Regions from separate parts of the Homo sapiens genome. Here all the other regions are linked to region 3. The links are contacts of gene promoters, found by promoter capture Hi-C in human tissues and cell types (Jung and others, 2019). All regions are on one chromosome and are shown on one strand. The core of a region is centred on a gene start or on the middle of the fragment in contact, and the rest is flanking DNA. Distances in the headings are between cores, read along the strand shown. Region 1 has its middle 23 kb from the start of CBX7. Region 2 holds the start of PDGFB (platelet derived growth factor subunit B). Region 3 holds the start of ATF4 (activating transcription factor 4). Region 4 holds the start of APOBEC3C (apolipoprotein B mRNA editing enzyme catalytic subunit 3C).

Region 1 (2,700 bases), core at 132-2,631, 390 kb after region 3:
GGCTGTTTATTTCACTTGGGTGCAAGTGGGCTGAGTCCAAAAAGAGTCAGCCAAGGGAGATAGGGGTGGGGCAGTTTTATAGGACTGGGGTAAGCAGTGGAAAGTTACAGTGAAAGGTGGTTAGCTATTGTCAGCAGGGGAGGGGGTCACAAGGTGCCTGTTGGGGAGATCATAATACTCATTGTCCGGAAGAAGGTCACCAGGTCGATCAGTTGGGGCAGGGCAGGAACAAGCCATAATGGACCTGCAGGCCATCTGGATGTATATGTGCAGGTCACAGGGGTTACAATGGCTGAGCTGCAGCTCAGAGGCCAGACAGTGGTGTCCCCACTGTGCTGAAGAAAGAGCTTCAGCCCCTGGCAATGCCTGGGGTTTAGGTCCCAGGTCTGCTGGTCACCGGCCATAATCTCGGACAAGTCTTTCCCTTCGCTGAGACCCCAGATGGACAGAGAATTCACTGAGGTGACGGGAACAGGAAACTGCGGGTGTCTCTGGGTGAGGCCATCACCATGGTCCGTAGTGTGTCATCAGAGGCCTGGAAGTGCTTCTGGCACCTTTTATCTGCTTCTCCCCAAGAGTCCTTTATTCCAGAACCTTGGAGGGGTGAGCATCGCAGGTCTCTGCAACGGCAGATTCCGGATCGCAGGACTGTCATGGGGCTAACGCTCACCTACTGTGTGTTCAGCCAAGCTTAGCACACACATCTGAACGTTGAGACAGGTGGTCAGAGCCAAGGGCAAGTCCTGGGAGCACGTCTGCATTTCAGTGCATCATGGGCTGCAGGACAGAGGCTAGGCTGGAGCAGGCAGGGCTGATGGTGGGGAGAAGAGTTAAACAGTCTGTTGTAGCCATGCAGGTGGAAGGGGATGGTGGCCGCAACTGTGGACATGTCAGTGAAAGAGAAACAGATAGACTGGGGATAGGTTTAGGTGGTGGAAGCGTCAAGATGTGGCCACTGAATTGATGAAAGTGAGGGATCAAGAATATGCCTGGGACCTGGCACAATGGCTCATGCCTATAATCCCAGCACTTGGGGAGGCTGAGGTGAGCGGATCACCTGAGGTCAGGAGTTTGAGACCAGCCTGACCTATATGGTGAAACCCTGTCTCTACTAAAAATGCAAAAATTAGCCGGGCACCTATAATCACAGCTACTCTGGAGGCTGAGGCAGGAGAATCTCTTGAACCCAAGAGGTGGAGGTTGCAGTGAGCCAAGATCGCCACTGCACTCCAGCCTGGAGACTCCATCTCGAAAAAAAAAAAAAGGGGGGGAGGGGGATATTGGACACAAACACATGCTGTGAGATGACTGTGTGAAGACAGAGATGCCATCCATAAGCCAGGAAGAGAGGCCTACATCAGAGCCTTCTCTCCAAGCTCAGAAGGAACCAACCCTGCTGACCTTTGATCCTGGACTTCAGCCTCCACAACTGTGAAAGGATACATTTCTGTTGTTTAAGCTTCCTGGTCTGTGGGAGCTTATTATGGCAGCCGTAGCAAGCTGATGCAGCGTCCATGAGAACAGAGTCTAAGGCAGGGACTTGGGTGCAGGTAGTTTATTTGGGAGGGGGTTCTAGGAAGCAAGAGTGGAGACAGGGCCAGGGGAGGAGGGAAAGCCAGGGTAAGGGCACATTATTGAGGTGGGTGCTGTGGGAACAGGAGTTTGATTCCACCTGGACTTTCGGGGAAGGGTTCGAAACGCCTCCCGAAATTGTCCGTCCAACTGGGGATAGGAATCTATAGCCACTCTCCCATCCTTCCCATCCCATTACTGAAGCTGCTCTGGCGTGTTGACTTCGTGCACTTCTCAGCTGGGTCCATGCAGAGGCCAAGGCACCCCCACCTGGCATCCAAATTACCCACTAGGCAGAAAGTGAAGACTGGACCCTGGCCATGGCTAAAGGCAGAGATGAGGATGGCAGGGTGAGAGCTGAGCAAGTGGAAACACCTGGCAGAGGAAGGCGTGGCCGGGCTGGTTTCACTGAGTTCAGAGTGTGTGTGGGTTGGCAGTACAGGCAGCTCTAACACAGTGTCATACACCAGAACACAGATATTCATTTCTCACAGTTCTGGGGGCCGGGAAGTCCAAGACCAAGATGCCGGCAGATACAGTATCTGGCGAGGGTCACCTTCTCACTGTGTCTTTACCTGGCAGAGAGAGGATGCTTTGATGTCTCTTTCTTTTCTTCTAAGAATGCTAATACCATCATGGGGGCCCCACCCTCATGGCCTCAAGTAAATCTAAAGACCTCTCAAAGGCCCCACCTCCAAATAACGTCACACTGGGGCCTAAGGCTTCAACATAAGAATTTGCGGTGGGTGATGAGAGGGTGGACACACACACAGACATTCAGTCCATGATACAGGTGTTGAGGTAGAGTGGTCCCACAAGCAGTTCACAAACAGTTCTGAAGCTTAGGGGAGAAAAACACATTTGGTAGAATCGTGCAGTGGCACGATTTCAGCTCACTGCAACTCCACCTCCCGGGTTCATGCCATTCTCCTGCCTCAGCCTCCTGAGTAGCTGGGACTACAGGTGCCTGCCACCACACCCAGCTAATTTTTTGTATCTTTTTTAGTAGGGACGGGATTTCACCATGTTAGCCAGGATGGCCTCAATCTCCTGACCTCGTGATCCACCCGCCTGGGACTCCCAAAGTGCTGGGATTACAGGCACAAGCCACTGTGCCCAGCCTTTTTT
Region 2 (2,700 bases), core at 201-2,700, 280 kb after region 3:
GCTGGAGTGCAGTGGCACAGTCACAACTCACTGCAGCCTCAAACTCCTGGGCTCAAAACGATCCACAGTCTCCTGAGTAGCTGGGACTACAGGAGCTTGTTACCACACCCAGCTCCAGTTTATAAATTCATCTCCAGTTTATAAAGGAGGAAACCGAGGTACTGAGAGGTTAAAAAACCTTCCTGCAGACACTTGTCCAGCAAGTGGCCACTCCAGGATTTGGACCAAGGTGATGTGTCTTCAGGCTGTGTCTCTGCCACTGTGCCACGCTGCTGGGTGGTAGGCAGCAGTGGGTGGGTGCCTGCAGTGGTCTGTAAAGACCACCTGAGATGTCCTTCCTCCTCTGTTCCACCCTGTCCAGGTCCAAGAAGACAGTCTATGAAGAGAGAGCAGGTGTGACTCTCTCAGTGTGCTCCTCTGTGAGAAGCAGGCTGACATCCCAAAGGGAAGGGCGGATAACAGAGACAGTGCAAGCGGAGGAGATGAGGGTGCCTCAAAGCCGGGAGGCTGGGTGATGCAGGAGCCTGCGTGTCCCGAGGGGGGTGCTGGGCCCAGTGTGAGTACGTGTGACTGTGACTGAGACAGTGTGACTGCTGAAGGCAGGGACACAGCAGCTCCCTGACTGGGGGCAGAAGGCGTTAACTGTGTGAAGGCTGGTTGTGGGTGGGTGGGCTCTGGGCCTCGAACCCGGGGGCTGAGGGAGATAGTAAACAGCAGGGTGACTGACGGGAAGATCATGTTGGTAGCCCTGCGAAGATGCTGCAGGGCTGTGGGGGTTTGTGTGACTTTGCAGTTCAACAAATTCAAATTCAGCCAACGCTGGCAGGGCCTGTTGTGCCAGGCAACCAGCTAGGAGGAGGAGACTCGGACCCAGCTTGCAGCTGAAGGGCGCTGGCTGCCGGGTTCTGTGGGTTCACCTTGCGGTGTCTTCCCTTGCTAACACTGAGTCCTTACAATAGCCCCATCTCCAGGTTGAGGCTAGATGGAGGGGACAGAGGGAAGTGACTTGCCCAAGGTGACCCAAGCTCCCGAGTGCCAGGGCAGGATCTGAATTCAGGCTCTCAGACTGCAGAGCCTGAGTCCCTCCCTGCCATGCCTGTGCCAGGGTGGAAATGTCTGGTCCTGGAGGGGAGCGTGGACTCCTGGCCTTGGCTCTGGAGACATCCCCCTAGACCACGTGGGCTCCTAACCTGTCCATGGTCACTGTGCTGAGGGGCGGGACGGTGGGTCACCCCTAGTTCTTTTTTCCCCAGGGCCAGATTCATGGACTGAAGGGTTGCTCGGCTCTCAGAGACCCCCTAAGCGCCCCGCCCTGGCCCCAAGCCCTCCCCCAGCTCCCGCGTCCCCCCCCTCCTGGCGCTGACTCCGGGCCAGAAGAGGAAAGGCTGTCTCCACCCACCTCTCGCACTCTCCCTTCTCCTTTATAAAGGCCGGAACAGCTGAAAGGGTGGCAACTTCTCCTCCTGCAGCCGGGAGCGGCCTGCCTGCCTCCCTGCGCACCCGCAGCCTCCCCCGCTGCCTCCCTAGGGCTCCCCTCCGGCCGCCAGCGCCCATTTTTCATTCCCTAGATAGAGATACTTTGCGCGCACACACATACATACGCGCGCAAAAAGGAAAAAAAAAAAAAAAAGCCCACCCTCCAGCCTCGCTGCAAAGAGAAAACCGGAGCAGCCGCAGCTCGCAGCTCGCAGCTCGCAGCCCGCAGCCCGCAGAGGACGCCCAGAGCGGCGAGCGGGCGGGCAGACGGACCGACGGACTCGCGCCGCGTCCACCTGTCGGCCGGGCCCAGCCGAGCGCGCAGCGGGCACGCCGCGCGCGCGGAGCAGCCGTGCCCGCCGCCCGGGCCCCGCGCCAGGGCGCACACGCTCCCGCCCCCCTACCCGGCCCGGGCGGGAGTTTGCACCTCTCCCTGCCCGGGTGCTCGAGCTGCCGTTGCAAAGCCAACTTTGGAAAAAGTTTTTTGGGGGAGACTTGGGCCTTGAGGTGCCCAGCTCCGCGCTTTCCGATTTTGGGGGCCTTTCCAGAAAATGTTGCAAAAAAGCTAAGCCGGCGGGCAGAGGAAAACGCCTGTAGCCGGCGAGTGAAGACGAACCATCGACTGCCGTGTTCCTTTTCCTCTTGGAGGTTGGAGTCCCCTGGGCGCCCCCACACGGCTAGACGCCTCGGCTGGTTCGCGACGCAGCCCCCCGGCCGTGGATGCTCACTCGGGCTCGGGATCCGCCCAGGTAGCGGCCTCGGACCCAGGTCCTGCGCCCAGGTCCTCCCCTGCCCCCCAGCGACGGAGCCGGGGCCGGGGGCGGCGGCGCCCGGGGGCCATGCGGGTGAGCCGCGGCTGCAGAGGCCTGAGCGCCTGATCGCCGCGGACCCGAGCCGAGCCCACCCCCCTCCCCAGCCCCCCACCCTGGCCGCGGGGGCGGCGCGCTCGATCTACGCGTCCGGGGCCCCGCGGGGCCGGGCCCGGAGTCGGCATGAATCGCTGCTGGGCGCTCTTCCTGTCTCTCTGCTGCTACCTGCGTCTGGTCAGCGCCGAGGTGAGTTGCCACGGCGGCTGGGGCTGGTTCTTCATTCATTACCTTCGCCCCCCCCTTCTGACCGCCCCCTCCTCTCCCTGCAGTGAACTTTGGACCCTTGCAGCCCGCGAGCCTGACGCCGGGCGCTGGGTGACCTCTTCGGGCTGGGAGCGAGGTCCGGGGGTGACAG
Region 3 (2,700 bases), core at 49-2,548:
GGTCATCTATACCCAACAGGGCATCCAAGTCGAACTCCTTCAAATCCATTTTCTCCAACATCCAATCTGTCCCGGAGAAGGCATCCTCTGCAAAACATTTGAGTGATGGGGCCAAGTGAGTCAGATACAAAGGTAGGAGGCCCCTAACCCTAGATCCCACCAGGACGATGTGGTGGTGGCCCACTCACCCTTGCTGTTGTTGGAGGGACTGACCAACCCATCCACAGCCAGCCATTCGGAGGAGCCCGCCTTAGCCTTGTCGCTGGAGAACCCATGAGGTTTGAAGTGCTTGGCCACCTCCAGGTAATCATCTAAGAGACCTAGGCTTTCTTCAGCCCCCAAACCCGACTGGTCGAAGGGGGACATCAAGTCCCCCACCAACACCTCGCTGCTCAGGAAGCTCATTTCGGTCATGTTGCGGTGCTTTGCTGGAATCGAGGAATGTGCTTAATTCGAAGGTGTCTTTGTCGGTTACAGCAACGCTGCTGCTGAATGCCGTGAGAAGCCTGAATGAGAATCAGAAGCCAACTCCCATTAGAGGTTAGCTGTTCTGAGAATTTCATCCTTCCACTTATGAGGCGGGACTTCTCTAGATCGGCCATCTAGAGAATCGGGAACAGGGCAGTTGTATTTGCCCCTCCCTGCTTGCAACTCAGGTTCCACAAAATGGACGCTCACGGAGACCAGGGGATTCTTCCACCGGCCGCCAAGAGGAAAGCGCTCCGTCCCCACGTCCAAATACGGCCAGGGCGGCCGCGCCCCGCCCACCGCCCGCCCTTGACTCACGCCCGCGCCGCCGCCCTGCCGCCGCCATCTTGGTTCCTGCCACGTTTCGTGGGGCAACAGCCAAGACCCCTGGGACCCTTGCGGGGCTCGGGGTCCGAGGGCTGTAGGGCTCCTGGGGAAGCAGTCCGGGCACCCGACTACGCTTTCCCGATCCCAGGCACGCGAGCGTCTCGGGGACACCCAAGCAAAGACCACGCGTCCCGGGCGCTCGTTAAATCGCTTCCCCCTTGGCGGCACCGCCCTGGCCCCAGGCCGCACCCCACCAATCCAAAACCCGCGCCGGCCCCAGGAGCACAGCTGGACGACCCGCCCCGGTACTCACGCCATGGCTTAAGCCGCTGGGGGTTGCCGCTGCAGAGCCTGGTGCTGCTGCCGCCGCTGCAAAGGCCAATGCTGCCGCAGGCACTGCTGCCCCTAATACGCCATGGTGGCCGTGGACCCTGAGGGCGGGGAGGAGGGAAAACGCACACGCGCAGAGAAAACTACATCTGTGGGCGGGCAAAGTAGAAATGGCTGCCGTGGCCGCCCGCCGGCCCTTTATAGACTTCGTCTCTATGGGGACGCAGCACAGACGCATCCTTCCGCCGCGACCACGTGACCGTCTCCTCCCGCCCGCTCCCTTCCCTCCCTCCCTTTGACGCCCCAACCGTTTATGCCCAGGGCGTAGCTGTGACGAGAAAAGGAGTTTGTTCTTATGGCCTCACGAAAGGAGAGAGGTGTACTACTTTACTAGGCTTCTATGATCAGAGTCCGTTCTTTCCTTCGCCGCCGGAGCGCGGAGTGATCTCCCAGACACGCCTCGCTTCCGGTGTCAGCGCAGTGGGCGGGGAAAGGTCGTTTTCCGGCGAAGAGTTTTTATTGTGAAGGCCGAGGACGCCAGGTTATCGCGCGAGGTGCTGGCGAAGAGCGCGCGTCAAGGTGATTGGCCCAGGCCCGGTGAATCATATATATCTCGAGCTCTTATTGGCTCAGGGCCCTAGATGGGCGGCTGCTGGGAGAGGGATCCCGGGGTCCGCGTGGGAAGGGTTGGGGTCTCGGGTCGCTGCTAGTCCTCAGCCAGCCCCGCCTGCTGGCCCGCCACGATCGCGCTGGCTCCTGCCCCCAGGCGGCCTTAGCCCAGCGCACCCCTTAGTGGCCTCAGGGACCAGCCCTTGCGGTCGGATCCCGCCGCCCTCAGTGGAGGTCCGCACTGGTGGCCCCGCCGCCGCTCCCAGCCTGCGCGTCCTTCGGTTGCGGGTGGTGATTTGTGGCCTGCGGAAACCGGGGGGTTACCTGTTCCAAGCCTGAGTTTTCCAGAGGCCCCATTCATAGCCGACACGGCGCTGCTGCCCCCGGGAGGTTGAAGGGGCCTCGAGAGGGCGCGCCGGGCCTGTCCACCTACCCCCAAAGGCCGGCTGAGTCTGCATGGCTCCTCCTAAACTCTGGAAAGGAGCCGGGAAGACGCGCCGTCCTGTCGCCCAACCTGGGTTTTTACAATTTTCATCCGGCTCAAGTGCAAGGCTGCCACAGAATAGCATCATAGAGGAACTTCTGGTGTCCGAAGATTGCGTTCTCCTAAGAACAAGATTTTCTTCGCTGCCGTCTCCCTGGGGTAGTTCGGATTCACTCCGGATTCTGAACTCCCCGGCCTAACCCGCTTTTCAGCAGTCACGCCCATGGCCCAGGGAGGAGAGGCGCTTGGGAACCCACGGCCACTTACTGGGGGTTGTGCGTTGGGAAGGGGTAGTCTGTTTTAAGAATACAAGAAACCTCCCCATCATCCTTCAGCCCCTTCCAGTCAGGCCCTGTGAAGGTGGAAACTTTGAGTTTCCGCCTCCATTTCACTGGGCCACACAAGTATGAGCGCTGTGATATCAAACAACCAGGGAAGCACTGCTCTAAATAACCACAGGCCATCTGCTGCGCTCATTCAAC
Region 4 (2,809 bases), core at 99-2,598, 510 kb after region 3:
CATCGGGTTTCTGAAGGCACAAGAGAGAAACCCCAATGCAGAGACCCCCGCACCGGAGTCCTCAGGGCTGATGCCCACTGAACACAGCTGCCTGGACGTCCCTGGGCTCTGGGCCTCCCCCATCCCTCCACAGCCCTGAGAATGTCTGCTGCTTTCCCAGGCAGGAAGACGGGGAGAGAGAAAGAGGAGGGGACGCTGGCAGGGGCAGCAGGGCCGGGGTGACCTCTCCTAGCTGGAACCCCAGCTCTGGGGCTACCAATGGAACACCCTCAACCTCCCAGTTTTTCTGCTACTTTTTTTTTTTTTTTTTTAAAGACGGCATCTCGCTCTGTCCCCCAGGCTGGAGTTTGCAATCTCAGCTCACTGCAACCTCCACCCCTCGGGTTCAAGGGATTCTCCTGCCTCAGCCTCCCAAGTAGCTGGGATTACAGACGCCCGCCAGCACCCCTGGCTAATTTTCTGTATTTTCAGTAGAGACGAGGTTTCACCATGTTAGTCAGGCTGGTCTCAAACTCCTGACCACAAGTGACCCGCCCGCCTCAGCCTCCCAAAGTGCTAGGATTACAGGCATAAGCCACCGTGCCTGGCCTAAAATAAGAGCATTTCTCCTGATCATCATATTTTTTCCTACACTCCATGTTGCAGGTGTCATTCTGAAAGGTGAACGGTGCTCACAGAGGAGGAGCCTGTGTCTGGGGTCGTGTGCATCCTACTCTGCTCACAGTGGAGGCATCTTTGGAAGAAGTGACTTATTTTCTGGTACAGAGACCATTCCCTCCCCCACACCCTCTCCTAAGACTTTGTATTGAAACAAAGTAAATCTTACAGAAATTGCACCAAAGCGCTGAGAACAAAATGCCTGATTGCTCAAATCATCCTTTGGTTCAATTCTCCCAGTTCCAGAGCTCCCAGGAATAGTGGGAAGCACACAGAGGAAGCACCCTCCCAGGGCGGGAAGCACCAGCCCGGGCATGATTTTCGGGGGAGAGTCTCAGCAGGCGGACTGGGCTGGGGCAAGTGGGGAAGGTGGCCCATTCAGAAGCAGCAGTCGTGGGACCACACAGCAGGGCAAGGAGCTTGGCTGGGAGTGGGGGCAGCGGGGGAACCAGGGGGGAGGGAGCCCAGAGGTGGGGCTGGGGCAGGGGGAGGCCAGGGCTGAGGCCCAGCAGGACCGCCTGGCAGGAAGTGGCAGGAGGGGCCTGGCGGACAAAGCGTGCAGAGGTACCTGATCTGTGGATTCATGTTCAGCCTCTTAGATATGCTTGTCCCTGTCCCACTCTTTTCTGAAGCGCTGTGGCTTCTCTTCCTGCTTACAGCGTCCTTGCAGTTGAGCAGCCCTCTTTAAAGTGACCTCCCAGGGCCTTGTGAATCATGGCCCCTCCCCATTCCTGCTCAGGCACTGGTGTGGGAGGCCCCGGGGTGCTTCATGTTTCTCTGGCTCTGGCCCTCTTTCTGGTTTTCTCCGGGCCCCTCCTACTGGCAGAGGAACCTCCGATAAAGACAGGCTGCTCTGTCTTTATCTGTCCTGGGCAGGACCCAACGGAACTGCAAAAAGAAGAGAAAGAGAAAGAGAAAGGCATTGCAGCCTGAGCCTGGGACGCGGGTCCAGACCCAGCTGAGAGAGGGGCAGGTGCCCCGTTGCCTGGTGGTTGGGCAGGCTGGAGCCCCCTCTCCACCACCCCCTCCCCAGCCCTAATGTGTGCCCAGAGCTTTGAGCAGCACCACCCTGTTGAGTGAGGGGAGGTTTTGAGACCCCAGTGGGGAAGGAAGTGTGGACTCCGCACAGCACAAGCGAAGGCTTAGGTGTGCCTCGAGTTCCCAGCTGTGTGCTGAGTCCATCGCACGCATCCCCTCTTCCAACCTCCCAGCTTCCAGAAGGTGGGGGGCAGTTCAGCCCCTCAGAGATGTGGGCGGAGGATTACCTAGGTGCTGAGGCAAGAGACTGAAGGCACAAACTGTTTCAGTATAATAAAGAATATACTTACAATAAGAATAGTTATAATACAAATTAGATACAGAGATGATCATGGACATTATCAATCATTAGTGTAGATATTATTAATCATTAGCTTTTAATATTACTCTTTATTGTATTACTAATATAACCAAGAAATAACCGGTGGGTATAGGGTCAGGTGCTGAAGGGCTGTTGTGAGAAGTGACCGAGAATGCAAGAGGTGAGCCCTCTGTCACACCCGCATAAGGGCTACTGGAGGGCTCCTTGGTCAGGCGGTAACGCCAGTGCCTAGGAAGGCATCGTTACTTAGCGGACCACGAAAGGGAGTCTCCCTTTTCTTGGAGGAGTCAGGGAACGCTCAGCTCCACCAGCTTCTTGTGGGAGGCTGGATAGTATCCAGGCCTGCCTGCAGCCATCCGGAGGCCTAAACCCCTCCCTGTGATGCTGTGCTTCAATGGTCACGCTCCTTGTCCACTTTCCTCCTGTACTCCTGGTCCCTCTTTGAAGTTCTCAGAAGATAGCGGTAGAAGAAATAGTGAAAGTCTTAAAGTCTTTGATCTTTCTGATAGGTGCATAGAAGAAAACGCTGACGTATACTGCCTTCCCTCTCTGCTTCGGCTACCTATAAGGGAAGGGCCCCCTGTCCTATGATCACGTGACTTGCTCGACCTTATCAATCACTTGGACGACTCACCCTCCTTACCCTGCCCCCCTTGTCTTGTATGCAATAAATAACAGTGCACGCAACCATTTGGGGCCACTACCCATCTCCGTGTCTTGATGGTAGTGGTCCCCCGGGCCCAGCTGTTTTCGCTTTATCTCTTTGTCTTGTGTCTTTACTTTTTACGATTT

The links. Contacts are between HindIII fragments. The study calls those that stand out against the background at their distance.
Region 1: a fragment that was not itself captured here is called in contact with the fragment with the promoter of ATF4 in region 3 in 2 of the 25 tissues and cell types used here (aorta and lymphoblastoid cells).
Region 2: the fragment with the promoter of PDGFB here is called in contact with the fragment with the promoter of ATF4 in region 3 in 1 of the 25 tissues and cell types used here (mesenchymal stem cells).
Region 4: the fragment with the promoter of APOBEC3C here is called in contact with the fragment with the promoter of ATF4 in region 3 in 1 of the 25 tissues and cell types used here (lymphoblastoid cells).

What each region holds. Positions count from the first base shown.
Region 1 is chr22:39,127,996-39,130,695 of GRCh38, reverse strand. No RefSeq gene overlaps it. Among named protein-coding and RNA genes, the nearest start is that of CBX7, 23 kb to the left of the region's middle. RefSeq lists a silencer at 1,998-2,047. The HindIII fragment of the contact is 3,322 bases long and covers 1-2,700 here.
Region 2 is chr22:39,243,732-39,246,431 of GRCh38, reverse strand. PDGFB (platelet derived growth factor subunit B) reads left to right here and starts at 1,450. Exons shown (of 7, transcript NM_002608.4): 1 at 1,450-2,531. The coding sequence starts at 2,469. The HindIII fragment of the contact is 11,810 bases long and covers 1-2,700 here.
Region 3 is chr22:39,519,160-39,521,859 of GRCh38, reverse strand. It overlaps ATF4 (activating transcription factor 4), which reads right to left and starts at 1,298. Exons shown (of 3, transcript NM_182810.3): 1 at 1,109-1,298; 2 at 189-506; 3 at 1-87. The coding sequence starts at 414. RefSeq lists enhancers at 821-870, 1,231-1,380 and a silencer at 1,761-1,960. The HindIII fragment of the contact is 4,198 bases long and covers 1-2,700 here.
Region 4 is chr22:39,012,796-39,015,604 of GRCh38, reverse strand. APOBEC3C (apolipoprotein B mRNA editing enzyme catalytic subunit 3C) reads right to left here and starts at 1,348. Exons shown (of 4, transcript NM_014508.3): 1 at 1,226-1,348; 2 at 1-10. The coding sequence starts at 1,242. RefSeq lists a silencer at 1,058-1,107 and enhancers at 1,218-1,327, 900-1,517, 1,247-1,541, 1,518-2,136. The HindIII fragment of the contact is 14,453 bases long and covers 1-2,809 here.